6 separate regions of the Homo sapiens genome follow, and all the other regions are linked to region 4. Evidence: promoter capture Hi-C in human tissues and cell types (Jung and others, 2019). All regions are on one chromosome and are shown on one strand. The core of a region is centred on a gene start or on the middle of the fragment in contact, and the rest is flanking DNA. Distances in the headings are between cores, read along the strand shown.

The links. The method cuts DNA at HindIII sites, captures the fragments that hold promoters and counts their contacts. A contact is called where the count stands out against the background at its distance.
Region 1: a contact is called between the fragment with the promoter of DOLPP1 here and the fragment with the promoter of ZDHHC12 in region 4, in 3 of the 25 tissues and cell types used here (lymphoblastoid cells, mesenchymal stem cells and mesendoderm cells).
Region 2: a contact is called between a fragment that was not itself captured here and the fragment with the promoter of ZDHHC12 in region 4, in 1 of the 25 tissues and cell types used here (dorsolateral prefrontal cortex).
Region 3: a fragment that was not itself captured here is called in contact with the fragment with the promoter of ZDHHC12 in region 4 in 2 of the 25 tissues and cell types used here (dorsolateral prefrontal cortex and spleen).
Region 5: a fragment that was not itself captured here is called in contact with the fragment with the promoter of ZDHHC12 in region 4 in 3 of the 25 tissues and cell types used here (dorsolateral prefrontal cortex, neural progenitor cells and stomach).
Region 6: a contact is called between the fragment with the promoter of CERCAM here and the fragment with the promoter of ZDHHC12 in region 4, in 6 of the 25 tissues and cell types used here (adrenal gland, dorsolateral prefrontal cortex, liver and 3 more).

What each region holds. Positions count from the first base shown.
Region 1 is chr9:129,079,667-129,082,610 of GRCh38, reverse strand. It overlaps DOLPP1 (dolichyldiphosphatase 1), which reads right to left and starts at 1,500. Exons shown (of 8, transcript NM_020438.5): 1 at 1,404-1,500. The coding sequence starts at 1,479. RefSeq lists a silencer at 1,073-1,802. The HindIII fragment of the contact is 10,069 bases long and covers 1-2,944 here.
Region 2 is chr9:129,040,093-129,043,253 of GRCh38, reverse strand. It overlaps MIGA2 (mitoguardin 2), which reads right to left. Exons shown (of 16, transcript NM_001329990.2): 2 at 2,564-2,802; 3 at 740-950. The coding sequence starts at 2,659. Among named protein-coding and RNA genes, the nearest start is that of MIGA2, 5.0 kb to the right of the region's middle. The HindIII fragment of the contact is 5,202 bases long and covers 1-3,161 here.
Region 3 is chr9:128,437,631-128,440,676 of GRCh38, reverse strand. No RefSeq gene overlaps it. Among named protein-coding and RNA genes, the nearest start is that of ODF2, 17 kb to the left of the region's middle. RefSeq lists a silencer at 1,886-2,059. The HindIII fragment of the contact is 5,750 bases long and covers 1-3,046 here.
Region 4 is chr9:128,722,275-128,725,398 of GRCh38, reverse strand. It overlaps ZDHHC12 (zDHHC palmitoyltransferase 12), which reads left to right and starts at 1,272. Exons shown (of 5, transcript NM_032799.5): 1 at 1,272-1,405; 2 at 2,825-2,961. The coding sequence starts at 1,306. ZDHHC12-DT (ZDHHC12 divergent transcript) reads right to left here and starts at 937. Exons shown (of 2, transcript NR_046240.1): 1 at 764-937. RefSeq lists a silencer at 904-1,383. The HindIII fragment of the contact is 17,684 bases long and covers 1-3,124 here.
Region 5 is chr9:128,980,090-128,982,930 of GRCh38, reverse strand. NUP188 (nucleoporin 188) reads right to left here. Exons shown (of 44, transcript NM_015354.3): 14 at 2,206-2,325; 15 at 1,541-1,667; 16 at 230-382; 17 at 1-29. Among named protein-coding and RNA genes, the nearest start is that of NUP188, 34 kb to the right of the region's middle. The HindIII fragment of the contact is 8,140 bases long and covers 1-2,841 here.
Region 6 is chr9:128,419,509-128,422,680 of GRCh38, reverse strand. It overlaps CERCAM (cerebral endothelial cell adhesion molecule), which reads right to left and starts at 1,824. Exons shown (of 13, transcript NM_016174.5): 1 at 1,607-1,824. The coding sequence starts at 1,803. RefSeq lists an enhancer at 1,089-1,278 and a silencer at 1,539-2,438. The HindIII fragment of the contact is 34,497 bases long and covers 1-3,172 here.

The DNA of each region.
Region 1 (2,944 bases), core at 251-2,750, 360 kb before region 4:
TGCCAGGTTCCTTCTGGCTTGTTGGATTGTGAGCACTCCAAGAAGCTACTCTGAGGCCAGGAGGGGAAGCTGTGAAGGTGCAGAGGCCTTAGCAAGTCTTTCCCCACCTCCAGGCTTTGGCTTTCCTCTTATAAAGCAGCTGGTTTTCATAGTGCAGGAATGCAGGGATATTTCAGGCCTGTTAAGCATTCTAAAAACCAGAGCTAGCCCAGGGCCTAGCACTCAGAAGTGTTCAGTGGATATTGACTGAATGAATGAATGGATGAATGAATGGTAGACAGGCAGGCAGGCAGGGCCCAGGACCTGGCAGGGCCATACCACCCCCAGTACAACCCAGAACACCAGCGTCAACGTTCTTTGGCATTCAGTCCTGGTGCCCTCAGCGGACCCAGGTTCTCACATCTCGCAAGACAGCAGCATGAGCAGGCCCTTCCCAGGCAACCAGGGCTCAATGAGGGGCTCCAGCCTTCCCTGGCACTCAACCATCTTACCCAGGGAGGGTCTTGCAAGGTGGGATAACATTAACTGCAGGTATTTACTGAACGCTTACTGCATGCCGGGCACTGTACTCAGCCCTTCTTGTGCCTCCTGCTATTTGATGCTCATACCATCACCAGAAGGTAAGCACTGTAATCAGTCCCACTTTAGAGATGAATTAACTTAAGCAGAGGCAGGCACCTGCACAAGGCCTCAGCCTCAACTGGAGCCCAGATGGGTCTGACCCCCACGCCCAGGCTCTGCGCCACTCTTACTAGACAGCCTCCAGAACGCCGCTAATGGACCTCTCAACTGGAAAGCCCTGCACTTCGAGAGGTGTGTCTGATGGGAAGCAACAGAAGTCAAGTTCCCGGAGGCTGCCCGCCCCCTCATCGGGTCCTCTCTGTTGTGGAATCGTGCCCTGCTCAGGGCGTGGCACCACAAGTACTCAAAAGCCTGGCTTCGGCTTGCACACTCCCAGCAACGGGGAGCTCTTTCTCTTACAAGCAGCCCAAAGCACTGTTCGAAGGAAACAAGACACTCCCTGCACGCTGGAACAGGAGTGCGGCCTCTCTGGGACAGGGGAGGGCGGGGAAGAAGGGCCAAGGTCCAGGCCAGGGATCTTTTCTCGCCTCACACAGATCCTCAACCCATTTCAGCCCACCGGCGCCCCGGGACCCGGGGGAGCGCCCTGGCCGCGCAGCCGCAGAGTGCGCGAGCGAGCGCCTCACAATTTCGCCCAGCTCATCCTCGCACCACTGCGCCTGCGCGGCGCGCGCGCCGGCCGAGCCCCTCCGTGGTTCACTATTTGACAGTTCCCACCCCGGTCCCCCGGCGCCCCCTCCGCGGGCTCGAGCAGGCCGGAGCGCCCGGGACTGAGAGGCCGTCCCTGGGAAGGCGTCCTTGGAGCCGGGACCGCCTTTTACCTGCAGGATATTCGACGTGGGTGAGGGTCACCGGCCGCCATGAAGCGGGGAGCGAGCACTGTCCGTCCGCTGCCATCTTACCCGGAGACCGGGCTTCTTCGAGCAGCCAATGGGGAGCCAGGGGGGCGGTGGTCCTGACCTATCACGCCGGGGAGGCGCCGTGCACCCAATCGGAGGCCAATATAGGTAGCGGCGCAGCCATTCAGCGTGCAGGCCGTGGGGGCTGGCCCGAGCGGCGAATCAGAGAGCGGGGCCCCTGGGAGCCAACGAGCCGCCCCAGCTGGCGCCCAATCTGGGGCGAGCGCAGGTAGGCATCTGGCCAATCAGAGAAGGGGAGGGTTCCAGCACCGAACAGGGAGCATAACAGCCAATCAGAAGGTGAGGCTGCCTCAGCTTGTGGGCAGGGCGGGCCAATCAGGCGCTGGCTTTGGGGGCGTGTTGAACTTTGGTGGGAGCTTTGGTTCGGCTGGGACCTGCGCCCTGAATGAAGGCTTCCCTGGTACCCCCTGCCGATCCGCGGTCTTGGGGACCTGCGCGTCCGATAGCGCGTGCTCGAAGAGGAGAGGCAACCTCAGCTCCAGGGGGTTTGAACCGACCCACTTTCAGTTACGAGTAAACTGAGACCAGAGAGCAGAGGGGGCTTATTTCCCTCTGCCCCATACTGGCCGGCGAAAGGGCAAGTCACACAGAGCAGGCGACCTTTTTGTCAAAAGTGTGTGGGGCGGGGCGCGCAGTAGGCGCCCTAAACGCTGGACTGAACAGAGAAGCTTAATTGATACTTAAGAGTGGAAGCTTAGCTACAGTTAAGGACTCCTTCCTCCTTTCATTCATTTAATAAAGATTTATTGATTCAGTCACGTCTATGCTACTTAATGAGGCGTCTTGGGAGCATTTCAAACAAGAAGTCGGTTTTCCACCTACCCCTCAGTTTTCCCAAGACATTCCTGCGTGAACAGCCACACCTTCCCACCCGCCTTCACCTCTCCTACCCGACTCTGTCTCTGGCTGGATTGGATTACAGTGCAGGTAAGGTGGGCTGGGAGGGCTCAGCCTCTTGTCTCCTGCCGCTAGCATGTGCTGTTTTTGTCTGTTTGTTTGTTTTTTGAGACAGGGTCTTGCTCTGAGGCCCAGGCTGGAGTGCAGTGGAACGATCTTGCTCAGCCTCCTGGGTCCAAGTGATTCTCCTGTCTCAGCCTCCCGAGTAGCTGTGACTACAGGCGCGCACCACCGCATCCGGCTAATTTTTGCATTTTTAGTAGAGACCGGGTCTTACCATGTTGGGCAGGCTGGTCTCGAACTCCTGGCCTCAGGTGATCCACCTGCCTCGGCTCCCAAAATGCTGAGATTACAAGCGTGAGCCGCCATGCCCAGCTAATTTTTTTTTTTTTTTTTTGAGACGGAGTCTCGCTCTGTTGCCCAGGCTGGAGTGCAGTGGCACGCCCGGCTAATTTTCGTACTTTTCGTAGAGACGGGGTTTCACCGTGTTGGTCAGGATGGTCTTGATCTCCTGACCTCGTGATCCGCCCACCTCGGCCTCCCAA
Region 2 (3,161 bases), core at 124-2,623, 320 kb before region 4:
TATGCTAAAAAGTACGAATCTTACTGCATGCAAATTAACCCTCAAATTTTTTTTTTTTTTGAGACGGAGTCTCGCTCTGTCACCCAGGCTGGAGTGCAGTGGCGCAATCTCGGCTCACTGCAAGCTCCGCCTCCTGGGTTCACGCCATTCTCCTGCCTCAGCCTCCTGAGTAGCTGGGATTACAGGTGCCCGTCACCATGCCCGGCTAATTTTTTGTATTTTTAGTAGAGACGGGGTTTCACCGTGTTATTCAGGATGGCCTCGATCTCCTAACCTTGTGATCTGCCCGCCTCGGCTTCCCAAGGAGCTGGGATTACAGGCGTGAGCCACCGCGCCCGGCCTAAACCTCAATTTTTAAGAGAGAAGGGAATGGGAGGAATACTGCATCATTCAAGAACCACATGGCTCTTCCTGCTCCTCAGCCTGGGGAACATCCCTCTCTGGACCCAGGAGCCACATCCCCGACCCCCTCTGACCAAGGTGCTCCCAAAGGGTCCTCAGCTAATGAGAACAACCAAAACCACCTCCACCAATGGAGCATGCGCATCCAACCACATCACCCTCCAGTACAGTGACTGGAGGGAGGGACGCTACTGTCATCCCGCTCACAGATCAGGAGACCTTGGCTCTGAGACAGGAAGACACTGGCCCAATATCCCCAAGTAGAGAGTGACCCAGCTGGGATATGACCCCAGGATGTGACCTCAGGTCAGGCCTATGCCCACCACCTCACACCTACCTTTCTTCACTGAAGGGACCTTCCTGGCCAAGAGGATAGGGAGGGGCACCGTGCCCAGCTGCTCCCCTCCCATCTCGGGACCAACCTGCTTCTTCCTCCTCCGTCGCCTCTTCAGCTGGTGGGCAGCCAGGGCCAGGGCCACAGTCCCCAGGGCCGTGGCAAAGAGGACTTTCCGCAGGCCTGGCGTCAACCGTAGCTGGGAGAATGCAGACTGCAGGGAAGAGGAGACGCTGCCGGTTACACCTCCCTGGGGAAGGTCCAAGGCAGCAGGACCGCCCCAGAGCACCTCAGGGACGGGACACACACCGGCTCTCCGGCACATCTGCCGACCAGATGAGAGACTGAGAGGCAGCCACCCTAGACGGGGAAGTTGACCAGCCTCCCTGAAACACAGGCCACAAAAACATAAAGATGGCAAGATGCCAGTGCCGAGAAGGTGAGGTCTAGGGGCCAGCACCCTCAGTCATGAGCACACAAGCCGCAGTGAACAAGCACCAGCTGTGCCCGGCACTGCACTAGGACCTAGCCTGGGGTACCCATCTGAGTCCCTGTCATTTCCAGACGAGGAACCTGAGGTTCACCCACATGAAGACATATACTCAAGGTGACAGAGGCAGACATGAAACCCAGATCTGCTGACCCCCATTTCTCAGTGATGCCTCAAAGATGATGACACTCACTCACCTGCCACCCCATCTGAACAATTCCTACTGCTGCACCTCACCCTCTGCCCCCCAGGCCTGGGAGCCCCTCAGATGGGACTGTACCCCACAAGGCAGATCTTCGGTCAAGATCCCAGTCAGCCACAAACATGTGAGTTGTCAGGGAGGGCACTGACCCCTTTTACAGACTGAGTAACTGAGGTCAAGAGTTCATATAGGACCAGGTGCAGTGGCTCATGCCTATAAACCCAGCACTTTAGGAGGCCAAGGTAGGTGGATGGCTTGAGCCCAAGAGTTCAAGACCAGCCTGGGCAAAATGGCAAGGCCCTATTTCTATTACGAAAAACTTTTTTTTTTTTGAGACGGAGTCTTACCCTGTTGCCCAGGCTGGAGTGCAGTGGTGCGATCTCGACTCACTGCAACCTCCGCTTCCTGGGTTCAAGTGATCCTCCCGCCTCAGCCTCCCAAGTAGCTGGGATTACAGGCACCTGCCACCATGCCCAGCTAATTTTTTTTTTTTTGAGGCGGAGTCTCGCTCTGTCGCCCAGGCTGGAGTGTAGTGGCATGATCTCAGCTCATTGCAACCTCCGCCTCCTGGGTTCAAGCAATTCTGTCTCAGCCTCCCAAGTAGCTGGGACTACAGGTGCACACCACCATGCTTGGCTAATTTTTGTACTTTTGGTAGAGATAGCGTTTCACCATATTGGTCAGGCTGGTCTTGAACTCCTGACTTCAGGTGATCCACCTGCTTCAGCTTCCCAGAGTGCTGGGATTACAGGCATGAGCCACTGTGCCCAGCCTACCCGCCTAATTTTTGTATTTTTAGTAGAGACAGGGTTTCACCATGTTGGCCAGGCTGGTCTTGAACTCCTGACCTCAGGTGATCCGCCCGTCCCGGCCTCCCAAAGTGCTGGGATTACAGGCGTGAGCCATCGCACCCGGCCAATACAATTTTTTTAATTAATTAAAAAAAAAAGAGTTCGTATAGTCTCAGGCTAAAGAACAGGCCTGAAGCCTCAGACAACAAACCCAGTCCAAAGAGGAGACACCAGAGGTTTGGCAAAGCAAGAACGAGGGCTCAGCGTTCCTGGACACGGAGGAGCCCTTGGCTGAGCATGGAAGTGTTTCATAGACCAGAGGTACAACCCACCCTGATCCTTACCTGCCCAAACGTCGTGTACAGGAACACGGGGATCTCGGCCACCGTCATGGCCAGGGCCTGGATCATAGACGTGCCCTCGGCCCTCCGGAACGCCATGGCAGGGCCAATGCCCCAGGCAAAGTCCTCAGGGCCAAGAGCTTCCAAGGAGAACGTCTTCAACTGGTTGCCAGCTGGGTCCCAGGCACCATCCACGCCCCAGAAGGACAGGGACACACATACCAGAGGGCCCCTCCACAGAGCTAAGAGACAGATGACCAAGTCAGATAAGAGAACGTGCACACGGGAACATGCAGAAATGCACTCAAGAAGAGCGTCCATGGGGGAGGAGGCAGGAGCAAAGCTTGCCTCTGGAACCCCAGGCCTGGAATCAGGCCCCAGGCCTCTGCATCTGCCCGCCAGCAGGCAGCCCCACACCCACAGACCCTCTGCCTACCAGGGGCCCTGCGAGCGGAAACATCTCTGGCCAGCCAGCCCAGGAGAGGACCCAGAACCTGGGAGGTGGACAGGTCACTCTCAGACTTAGGGCTTTAAGCCACATTTTCTCTACCTTTTTCAACCCATGGACCATTTGCTAAGCAAAAATCTTAGACCCCAGACT
Region 3 (3,046 bases), core at 126-2,625, 280 kb after region 4:
TATTACAGTGGGTTCCTAACTGGTCTCACTGTTTCTTCCATGGACCTGCCTACAGTTTATTCTCAGCACAGTAGCCGGTGTGATCTTATAACACTACATGAGATCATGCCACATCTCTGCCAGGGTGATCATGTAAAAATGTAAGTTAGATGGTTACTTCTTTGCCTCCATCTCTCTGGGGGCTCCATCTCAGAGTAAAAGCCAAAATGGCCTTCATGGCCATCCCTGCTCTGGCCCCAGCCTTGGCTCTATCAACTCTAGACACTGGTCCTCCTCTCTTCTGCACTGTCAGTCCTGCTTCTGCCTCAGGACCTTTGCATATGCTGTTCCTTCTGCTTGGAAGCTCTTCCTTTTGCTATCCCCAAGGCTCAGCCCCTCCCCTCCTTAAAGTCTTTTTTTTTTTTTTTTTTGTCTATTTTTTTTTTTTTTTTGAGACGGAGTCTCACTCTGTCACCCAGGCTGGAGTGCAGTGGTTTGATCTCGGCTCACTGCAACCTCTGCCTCCCAGGTTCAAGCAATTCTCTTCCTCAGCCTCCCACGTAGCTGGGACTACAGGCGCCCACCACCACACCTGGCTAATTTTTGTATTTTTAGTAGAGACGGGGTTTCACCCTCTTGGCCAGGCTGGTCTTGAACTCCTGACCTCGTGATCCACCTGCCTCGCCCTCCCAAAATGGTGGGATTACAGGTGTGAGCCACCCTGCCTGGCGAAGTCTTTTGTTTTTGAGATGGAGTCTCACTCTGTCGCCCAAGCTGGAGTGCAGTGGTGCAAGCTCAGCTCACTGCAACCTCCACCTCCCAGGTTCAAGTGATTCTCCTGCTTCAGTCTCCCGAGTAGCTGGCATTACAGGCGCCCGCTAGCACACCTGACTAATTTTTGTATTTTTAATAGAGATGGGATTTCCCTATGTTGGCCAGGCTGGTCTCAAACTCCTGGCCTCCAGTGATCCATCTGCTTAGGCCTTCCAAAGTGCTAGGATTACAGGCATGAGCAACTATGCCTGGCCCACTCCTGCGTCTTTGTTCAGGTGTTAACTTCTCAGATCTTACTTTGTATCTCTCCGCTTCTCATTTTTCTCTATAGCAATTCACACCCTCTGATCTTTCTTTGTTTTTGTCTGCATCCCTCATTAGGATGTCAGTTTTGGCCGGGTGTGGTGACAGAAGGTGATAGAGTGAGACTCCGCCACAAAAAAAAAAGAAAAAAAAGAATGTCAGTTTAATGAGGTCAGGGGTTTTGTCAGTTTCATTCACTGCTGAATCCCCAGGGCCTGACTGCGGCCCATGGGAGGTGCTTAATAAAGGTTAACAAATGAATGAAGGGGACACCTGGAGCCTGGAGAGAAGTGAGTCGCTCAAGGTCATAGCCATCCAGAATGAATGACTTTCATCTTAGAACGAATAAAGCACCGAGTCCACAGCTCCAGCCCAAGGTCCTTCTCACAGCCGTGCCAGGTCCTGGACCTCAACCCCAGGACAGAGCCAAGGGATACCCCAACCTCAGGGAGTGCCTGTCAGGCTCTGCCAGGACTGGAGTGCTCACACAACCAAGTCAGGGGGCCACATGGAAGAGGAGCAGGAACGGTGGAAGCCAAAGCAGCCATGGCCAAGGCCAGGAGCCATCTCCCCTCCCACCCCTCCAGCTGCCTGAGTGCAGGCATGACAGACAGCGGCTGGGCCCAGAAGCCCGACTCTCTGGGGCCAGGGGAGAGGCCTGCAGTTCCCATCAGAAGAGCAGAAGACGCAGAGCTGCTGCGGGTTGCCCCAGCACCAATGGGAGCTTCCCTATGGCCCATGCTTCCTTCCTGGTGTTGGCCCCAACCCAGCAGAGAGCATCCTGGCCAAGTCCAGGCTCTGCCACCTTGCGCCCTCTGGTGGCCACATTGGTTAGTGCCAGAGGGGAACCCAGGATCTCCCCCAGCCCCTCCCAGGCGGTTCCTCTTCCCCTAAGCCAGGGTTTCAGCTGCACAAGAGATGATCCAAAGGGCCGGGGGACATCAGCAGCCCTTGGACTGGCTGGGCCCACCCTGACCAGCAAGGTGAGGCTGGTAATGACTTCGGGGATGACCACATCAGCCCCAACAGGTGAGCACTCACTGTGAGCCGGGCTCAGGCTAGGCCACTCTATACCCAACCAGCCACAATGACCGAAGAGTAGACTAAGGCCCAGGGAAGGGATGGCACCCACCCAAGATCACCCAGCACAGAGGTGATGCTGGATCGGCCTGACTCCTCACCTGTCCTCCCCTCTCTGTCCCTCCAATTGCTCAACCATAGATCAGGAAGCCTCCTCCCAGGCCAGCTGAGATGCAGAGGCTCAGCCATGAGTTAAAAAATATAAAGTAAAAATACAAAAATTAGCTGGGCGTGGTGGCACATGCCTGTAATCCCAGCTACTAGGGAGGCTGAGGAAGGAGAATCGCTTCAACCCAAGAGGCGGAGGCTGCAGTGAGCCGAGATCACACCACTGCACTCCAGCCTGGGTGACAGAGCGAGACTCTGTCTTAAAAACAAACAAATATATATACATGTATATATATGTATGTATACATATATACATGTATATACACGTATGTGTACATATATACACGTATATATACGTGTATATACGTGTGTGTATATACGTGTATATACGTGTGTGTATATACGTGTATATACGTGTGTGTATATACGTGTATATACGTGTGTGTATATACGTGTATATACGTGTGTGTATATACGTGTATATACGTGTGTGTATATACGTGTATATACGTGTATGTGTATATACGTGTATATACGTGTATGTGTATATACGTGTATATACGTGTATGTGTATATACGTGTATATACGTGTATGTGTATATACGTGTATATACACGTATATATGTATATATACGTGTATATATACGTATATACGTGTATATATATGTATATATATAAAGTGGCAGGGTGCAGTGGCTCACGCCTCTCATCCCAGCACTGTGGGAGGCCGAGGTGGATAGATTGTTTGAGCCCAGGAGTTTGAGACCAGCCTGGGCAACATGCAAAACCCAGTCTCTACAAA
Region 4 (3,124 bases), core at 23-2,522:
AGACCATCTCTTGCTCCCTCCTTTAGTGCTGCTTATCCATCTCTATGTGTCTTTATAAGTTGGTCTCATTTTCTCCAGCCACAGACAGGGTAAGCCCTCTCCGCCCAGCGTAAAGACGGCTCCCAGTTGCCTTATATCCCATTCCTTAGGCTTGAGATCCAAAAGAATGCTCCTTCCTCTCAGCATCTAGACAGTAATCTCATGGAAGGCCTGTGATTGGTTCTGCAGAGTCGAAAGCCCACAGCCTGCCGCTCGCCATCCTATGGGGTGAGGGGCAGTCCCTCCAATCACATGGGATGGGAAGTCGATTCCCCAACCAAAAAAAGGATGTTGAGCTGAGAAAAACAACAGATGTCAGAGGAGTATCCTGGAGGAGCTGGGATGGGGCCAATCAGAGGGAGGCGGAGGAGGATGCTGGTATCAGTGGGAGGTGCTGTGGAAAGGCGGGGCTGAGTGGAGAAGGCCCTGGGGACACAGGGAAGGAGGACAGCCTGCAGCCTCCGGTGAGGAAAGTCCGCCTGTAGGTGGTGGCTCACAGCAGGAGAGGCAAGACAGTCCCGTGCTAGACAAGGCGCTTCCATTATTTAATCCTCCCAAACACCTTAGGAGGAAGACACTATTGTAATCCCCCTTATAGAGACAGAAAACAGCTCAGAGGGGCTCAGTAACTCGCCCAGGGTCACACAGGTAGGAAGGGGCAGTGCTGGGATTTCTGACTCCCGCCTAAGTTGGATCACCCATAGTCAGAATGTGCACCACGTACCTCCACTTTTCTCTCGTCCGTTTGCAATATCTGAGAATACATAGCAAGGAGGTAAAGCTGTCACCACAGAGCAACCTTGGGCGAGCCTTGGCCCTCTCGAGACTTTAGTCATCACATCTTTGAAATGGGTACAATTTTGCCTCCCGGACTCACAGCAAGCCGCTGGATCTTCGAAGCGCCCAGGGAGCTACGCGCATGCGCGAGGCTGCGAGGGCGGGCACAGGGGAACGCGGGGGAGGGCACAGCGGAGCGCGGGGGAGGTGCGCGCGCGCTCCGGCGCTTTCAAAAGTTACCTGGCGGGTGGGGCTGGAGTTGAGGGAGTTACCAGCTGCGCGCGCGCCGGCCCCACCCTCAGCCTCTTCAGGCACCTGTTGGCTTGAGGGTCCATTCGGCCGCAGATGCCATCCAATAGGCAGCCTCCCTGACCCAGTCCGGCCCCGCCCAACGCCTAGATCCACCAGTCCCCGGGCGGCGGCGTTCCCCTCCCTCGGAGGGCCCGCCCCTCTGGGCGCTTCTTCCGGGTGGGGCCCCGGGCCGAGGCGATGGCGCCCTGGGCGCTCCTCAGCCCTGGGGTCCTGGTGCGGACCGGGCACACCGTGCTGACCTGGGGAATCACGCTGGTGCTCTTCCTGCACGATACCGGTGAGCCGGACCCCGAGCGACCCCGGACCCACCCGATCCCGCGTACTTCCCCAGACGTTCTGGTCACACTGGGTCTCCCGCCTAATCCCTGGAGATCCTGGGATTGGCCCGATCTCCACCAGCTCCTGAAGCCCTCTCCCCATCTATCATTCCAAGAGCCACCTGCTCTCTGTCTGATACCCCGTTGATCCCTAATTAATCCCAGCATCTTCCTGATCATTGCCAAATGCCCTGTCCATCCCAGGACCCAGCCGGTGCCCACCAGATCCAAGGACCGACTTGAGCCCCATGTCCCCTGATCCTGGGACCCACATGATCCTTCCCAGGAACTGACCCCAAATCTTCCTATCCATACGATTAGGAGGCTCAACTAGATGCAAAGATTGGCATTCTGCCCACACCCACACCCCCCACACCCCCATGGCCACTAGCTGCCCAAGTCCAGGCAAACCCTCAGGCCAGAGAACACTCCATGGGGTGCGGCCTGTCTCCCATCTTCCCACAGATTCACCCACCCACCCACCTCCATTTCCCTCATTCCTCTTAGTAGCCCCCTACCCAGCGCCTCACCTGCCACAGGCAGCCTCCCCCACTGTCCCCCACAGCAGACCCCAGCCCTCCTTCCATGGCGGTCCAGCCTCAGTTTCTGGACTGGGGCCCCTTCTGGCTTTCCTCCCAAGACAGACCTCCTCCACCACCTTCACCCTTTAGCCTAAAAACTTGCTCAGGTCTCCGTATCAGAAAACCCCCCTCAAAACCCACCCTTTCTTCTCTGCTCCCCCTTACAACCAAGGGACACAGGATTTGTCTACACTCTGCTGTCTGGTGGTCTCATGCCCCCTCACTCCTTGCCCTGCACCCTACCTCCCCAAAATCCTGTCACCTCCCTGGGCTGAAGCCTGCTGGACCCTTCCGTATGCCCCTCTGCAGCATCTGAGCCTGCCAGCTGCACCCTTCCCACTGTATCTCTCTCAGGCATTTCAGACCTAACCAGTCTCTCACCATTGCAGAGCCAGAGACGCTGGACCCCTCTTCCCTCTCTCCCACATCCAGTCAGGTCTGGCTCCCTTGACCCAGCAGCCCCCTGTCCATTCCTTCCTCCCTCACTTCCTGCCAGGCCTTTGTAGCGACTCTCTTCTTCCTCCTGGCCAGATTCTCTGCCCCCAGGCTTCCCCTGATCCATTTCTTTAGCAATGAGGTTTTCCAAAACAGATCTGGCTCTATAACCTTCCATGGTTCCCTCTGACCCTCCAGATAAAAGTGCAGATGAACTGCTGGCCACACACAGCCACTCATGGAACCAACATCTCCAGGCCTTTGCTCAGCCAGGAACACACTTCCCCACCTCCAACTGCACCCCAACCCCACCCACTCCTGTTCTACCCGGCCCAGCCTCACTGTGCTCTCCGGCCTCTCCAGAGCTGCGGCAATGGGAGGAGCAGGGGGAGCTGCTCCTGCCCCTCACCTTCCTGCTCCTGGTGCTGGGCTCCCTGCTGCTCTACCTCGCTGTGTCACTCATGGACCCTGGCTACGTGAATGTGCAGCCCCAGCCTCAGGTAACCAGGGGCCCCTACTCTCACCAACAGGGACCTAACAACCAGCACCAGTCTCCATGCCAGGCTCTGTGCTGCAGGCTCTTGTGGGAGCAGTTCAGTGACTCCTCTTGCCACCCCTAGAGCCCCATCTACAGTAGTGAGGAAACTGCTGGGCCCCAGAGAA
Region 5 (2,841 bases), core at 21-2,520, 260 kb before region 4:
TTTGACTCGCTGGCAGTGCTGAATCACATCTGAGAAGAAAGACAGCCTGTGACCTCACGGCAAACAACCCCTTTAAGATCACTGAACAGTCTCTGAGACCCAGATACACAAATCAGACAAATCACAATCTTGATGGTTCTAAATTTTATGTAGATATTCTATTTTCTAAATCCTCCAAGCATATCCACTTTTCCTCCTCGTAGGTGATGTTTCCGAAAGCTGACCTTACCTGCAGTTGAAACAACATGAAGCAACATTTCAATCTCGCAGGTAAAGAGGGTCCAGCTGCTATAGGAGTATTCCCAGCGTACCAGGTATGCCCTATCATCCAACATTACTTGGCCCACAGTGCCTTGAGGTATGCGAAGGTTGGTTTGACCCCCTGAGAGAGAAAGATAAATTAGTCTAATATCTGAGGATAAATAAAAAATGTAACTCCTCTACCAGACATCAATATTTTAAACACACAGAGATACACAAACTCACAGACATTTTTTTTTTTTGAGACAGAGTCTCCCTCTTGCCCAGGCTGGAGTGCAGTGGCGCGATCTCGGCTCGCTGCAACCTCCACCTCCTGGGTTCAAGTGATTCTCGTGCTTCAGCCTCCCAAGTAGCTGGGACTACAGGTGCGCACCACCACTCCTGGCTAATTTTTGTATTTTTAGTAGAGATGGGGTTTTCCATGTTGACCAGGCTGGTCTTGAGCTCCTGGCTTCAAGTGATTTGCCTGTCTTGGCCTCCCAAAGTTCTGGGATTCACAGGCTTTCTTCTTAGTAGCTAACATTCCTAAAGCTTTTTCAACTAAAATACACAAAAAAGTTCTTGTCATGTAGACAAGTGTCTTTTTTTTTTTGAGATGGAGTTTTGCTCTTGCTGCCCAGGCTGGAGTGCAATGGCGCGATCTCAACTCACTGCAACCTCTGCCTCCCAAGTTCAAACGATTCTCCTGTCTTAGCCTCCCGAGTAGCTGGGATTACAGGCATGCACCACCACGCCCGACTAATTTTATATTTTTAGTAGAGACGGGGTTTCTCCATGTTGGTCAGGCTGGTCTCGAACTCCCGACCTCACGTGATCCGCCCACCTTGGCCTGTAATCCCAGTGTTGGGATTACAGGCGTGAGCCACTACACCTGGCCGACAAGTGACTCTTTCTATATGTCTGAAAATCACTTGAGTGCAAAGAACAGTTTTCCATTCAAATGATGATAACAACAGTACCTCATAGGACTGTTAGTGCCTAGATGACTGGAGAAGTCAGTGGTGATGATGCCAGGATTAAAACGGTGAGGCTATTCCCTGTATATTTTCCTCTTTGAGCACCTGGTACAGATGTGAGCCTCAGAGTGTAACTGCCTGGATGCATTGGCTCACGTCTATAATCCCAGTGCTTTGGGAGGCTAAGGTGGGAGAATCACTTGAGCCCAAGAATTTGAGGCTGCAGTGAGCTATGATCTTGCCACTGCACTCCAGCTTGGGTGACAGAGCAAGACATCAAAAAAAAAAAAAGCTGTCATAAAAGGGGGATCTCTTTATCTCACCAAGGGGATAAAGGAGTTTGGGTGTTTGTCTCCGCCAAAGAGTTCCATCTTCATGGGAGATCACATCATGAGGCTTGTGTTTATAAAGTTCATTGTAGAAAGACATCTTATCCAAGAAGCTATACACCTGCCAAAACAGAAAAAACCATCACACATTTCCCTCCAGGATAAGCAAGGAGAGGTCCCACAGTCTGCTCTTTCAACCAGACTCTCAAACTTCTTGCAAGCCCACCACTGTGACTGTTCTTGGAACTGCCTTCTGCGCCCCTCGCCAAATCTTCACTGGGCTTTAACACTCAACTCAAGTCCCCATCACTCCACAAGGGCAGTTATCTCTCCTGAACAGTATGGTCTTTATTGCTCAAATGACATTTACTCTGTACCACCTGGCTCTTAGCTATTTATTTCTTATATCTAGTAACTTCCAACTAGATATTAAGGAACTTTATACTTAGTCTTAGTCCCACAGTATCTACAATAGGTACTTAATGAAAAGATTATTTAATTTTTTAGAATTGAGGTGCTATCTTTGGTATCTTTCATTCACCTTCAGACAAACTTTTGTCATGGCAGTAGAACTGCAATGTGGAAAGCAAAAAAGATTCCTAATAAAGTCTCCATAAAGAATCTCCCATTCTCTTTACTTATCTGACTAAGCAACTTACCTTTTTGGCTGTGGACTTCCCTGATACCAGGGCTCGGAGCAGTTGCAGGAGTGGGGAGAGAAGGTGGGGAAACATTCCACACACACTGTCCAGAATGATCCCAAGGCCAGAAGTTGGCTCCTGTGGTGGAAGGGGACAAATCACTGATCTTCACATTATCCACAAATTAACATCTCTCCAAATTTCCCAGCAATCATGAGAAAATTTAGAATTAATCCTTCCTTTTAGACAGATATCATCCCTCCTTAATAATTTAAGACTTTCATATTTCCACTGAAAAAGGATATAAAATAATTGATTTAGTGAGGGACCTAAAAAAAGATTACTATTCTATCCAGTGACCTCTTCCCAGCCATCCTTTCTATGGGAAGACAGTATTGTTCACCTGTGCATTACATGTTTCCACTAAAGTGCAAATTACCCAACTATGTCAGCAGTTGGCTACCACACAGCAACCACAGATCCTCACTCTAGATACTGTTTCATACCAGCTTCTCCTTCTCCCAGGAGCACTGTGGTTCTATAACATCAGACAGCATCTTACAAAAAAGAGGGTAAAATACACAGGTAGATCATCAGTTGGATCTTGAGGTTTGAGACTGTTGTCAATGCTCAGAGCAAGTACTGGTGAGAAAT
Region 6 (3,172 bases), core at 575-3,074, 300 kb after region 4:
TGTGACCTCAGGCAAGTCCCATCTTTCTCTGGGCTTCACGTCCTCCCTCTATAACTTAAGCTGTCCTGCTTATGTCATGGACAAAGATAAGAGAAGAATAATGCATTTTTTTTGAGATGGAATCTTGCTCTGTCGCCCAGGCTGTAGTGCAGTGGTATGATCTCGACTCACTGCAACCTCCGCCTCCCGGGTTCAAGTGATTCTCCTGCCTCAGCCTCCTGAGTACCTGGGATTACAGGTGTGCACCACCATGCCCGGCTAATTTTTGTTTGTTTAGTAGAGATGGGGTTTCACCATGTTAGCCAGGCTGGTCTTGAACTCCTCACCTCAGGTGATCTGCCCACTTCGGCCTCCCAAAGTGCTGAAATTACAGGCGTGAGCCACCACACCTGGCCAACGAATGCATTTTGAAAGATGAAAAGTACCTCGACTTTAAGGATCACACCTGGTGCATTCCCTGGTTACCTTCGTTAGGTGGGCAGATACCTACCTATGTGACCTGTGGCTGTGTGACCACAGGCCAGCCCCTGTCCCTCTCTGAATGGGGACTAGACAGAAGAGCTGCTGCTTTCCTCCACCCCCAGGTTGTAATAAGGACCAAACCATGCTCTAAGCGTCCCTAAGAATGCAGATGGGTCCAAGCTCTGCTGTCATGGGGCACAGCCTCCCCTCTCCTGGGGAAGGGGCCCCCATAACAGAGGTGGGGGTTTAGCCAAGTGCCCAGGTTTTGGGTGATGCTGCCCCTTTAAGCCAATTCCCCAGAAATGAAGACTACGTGTCAAGTCTTACAGGGGTGGGAACTAACAAACTCCCAAACTGTGGTAATTGTGGGCGGCCTCCCCAGGCCAGGGCTCCACCCCCCCAGCCCAACTGTGGTGTGTTGAAGAGGGTGGCTTGTCATTTTTCTCAGTTTACCCCCAACCTCAGCCAGGGACTCCTCCCTGTTCTGGTGTCTACAGACCAGGGGTTGTGGCCTTCGATCCCAGTGCCCTGGGGGTACAGAGATGCCAGAGGGGAGAGGCTCCAGGAAGGGGGACTGCCCTTGGCTGACAGGATCCCGCCCCTCTACCAAGATCTACCAAGAGAGCTGGCCCCAGCACGGGGGCGGTGGGGGGGCCGGTCTGACTCCCCTGCACAGCCCGGAGCCCAGTGCTGATGGCACCCCCAACCTGTGCCCGGAAGCCTCCAGCGTGGTCGATCCCTGCCACGTTGGGCCCCAGTGGACTTCAGAGGTTCCTGTCTGCTCCTCTTCAAATCCAGCCAACCACAGGTCCCACTGGGGTTGAGCTGGGCCCTGAAGGCTGGGGTGAAAAGGGCTGGCTGGGCCCAACCTACACCCAGGGAAGGCCCCAAGAGGAAGGAGTAGGGGACCAGAAGGAGGGGTGGGTGTCCCGCGTCGGCCTGTGGCCTCAGAGGTCTGTCGTCTCCCAGCAGGGGGCTCGGGGTCCTCTCTGGCGGCTCGGGCTGGCAGGGCCGTCTGTGAGGGGAGGGGCCTGTCTAGGTGGTGTCTGGGCAGGGAGCGAGCAGACAGGGCCGCCGGGGGCGGGGGCCATCTGCGAAGCTGGGGGTTAGGTGCCCACTCGGTGCCAATGCCCGGGTCTCTCACCAGAGGGCCATCCTGGCCCGGGGGTAGTCCAGCCGCTCCAGAGCGCCCAGGTAGTGGGGCAGCGAGTGTTCGGCATTGCGGGCCAGGATGGCAAGGACCACGGCGGGCAGCGGCGACTCCGCAACGCCCGCAGCCTCCAGCCACGGCCCCAGCAGGAGCAGCAGCTGGAGCAGCGGCGCGGCGCGGGCAGCGCGCATGGCGGGCGCTTGGGCGGCTGCAGCGGCCCCCGGAGCTCTCGGGCCGGCCGAGGGGAGGGGGCGGGGCCTGGGGCCCGGGCGGGGCCGAGGCAGACCCGGAGAGGGCGGGGCAGTGCACCCTCAGAGTGGGATCCTGCTCCCCACCCCTGTGCGTGGATGCTCAAGTTTTCTCTCCTTGGCCCGGGGCACCGGAGGGCCAGGGCCCGGGGACCCGCGCCAGCCGCGACCCTGGAGCAGCCCCGCCCGGCTGGACCCCGGAGGGGCGACGGCGGAGGGGCCGGAGGACCGGACAGGGGAGGGGTGCTAGGACGAGTGCGTCGGGGCCGGCCGGGCGTCCGAGAACAGTAGGGGCTCATGGAACCCCTGGGCGTTGAACCCCCGGAATCCGGATTCCCCGGCCCACGCAGCCGACTCTTCGACCTGAGCCGCAGACCCAGAGGGGCGGCGCCCACTCGGCCACCACCTCCCGGGCTTCCCCGGCTCCCGCCCCATCCTCCGCCCCGGGCGCCCTCTGGCGGCCCTGGCGCTAGCTCCGCAGACCAGCCGGGCCACGCGTGGGCCGGAGACCCAGCGTGGGGGGCGCAGAGGGAGTCCCCCTGAGCTGGGCGCGTCCTCCCGCGGCGGTCCGCTCCTTAAGTCCCCTGTGCGTCACCTCCTTGCGTCGGTCGCCAGCACCCGCATTGCTTCGGCCCTTTAAGAGAGCACAGCCAGGCCGGGCGTGGTAGCTCACGCCTGTAATCCCGGCACTTTGGGAGACCGAGGCGGGAGGATCACCTGAGATCAGTTCAAGACCAGCCTGGCCAAGATGGTGAAATCCCATCTGTACTAAAAATACAAAAATTAGCCGGGCGTCGTGGCGGGTGCCTGTACTCCCAGCTACTTGGGAGGCTGAGGCAGGAGAATCGCTTGAACCCGGGAGGCGGAGGTTGCAGTGAGCCGAGATCGCGCCACTGCACTACAGCCTGGATGACAGACCGAGACTCCGTCTCAAAAAGAAAAAAAAAAAAAGAGCACAGCCCTCACAGCCCTCTCTTGGTCTGAGTGTAGAACTAGGGGACACCACGGAGCTGCTCACTGCGACCCGACCCGTCCGTCCTCCAAAGCAGGGGATGTTGGCTCCCCTGGAGCACCGCCGGGGTCCTTAGGACCCTGCTGGGAGGGAAAGAACTCTGCAGCCTCTCGGGAGAGGAGCAGAAAAGGGAGCGGCCTGGCGGCACCACAGATGGGATCGAACTGGGTGTCTGTCACCAACCTCAGACAGGTCCCTTTCCCTCAGGAGCCTCTCGGGTAAAATCGGGCTGATAACGCCACCCATCTGGGAGGGTTTGCAGGGATTCCTCGAGAGAATGAATGCACTGGCAGCTTTTCC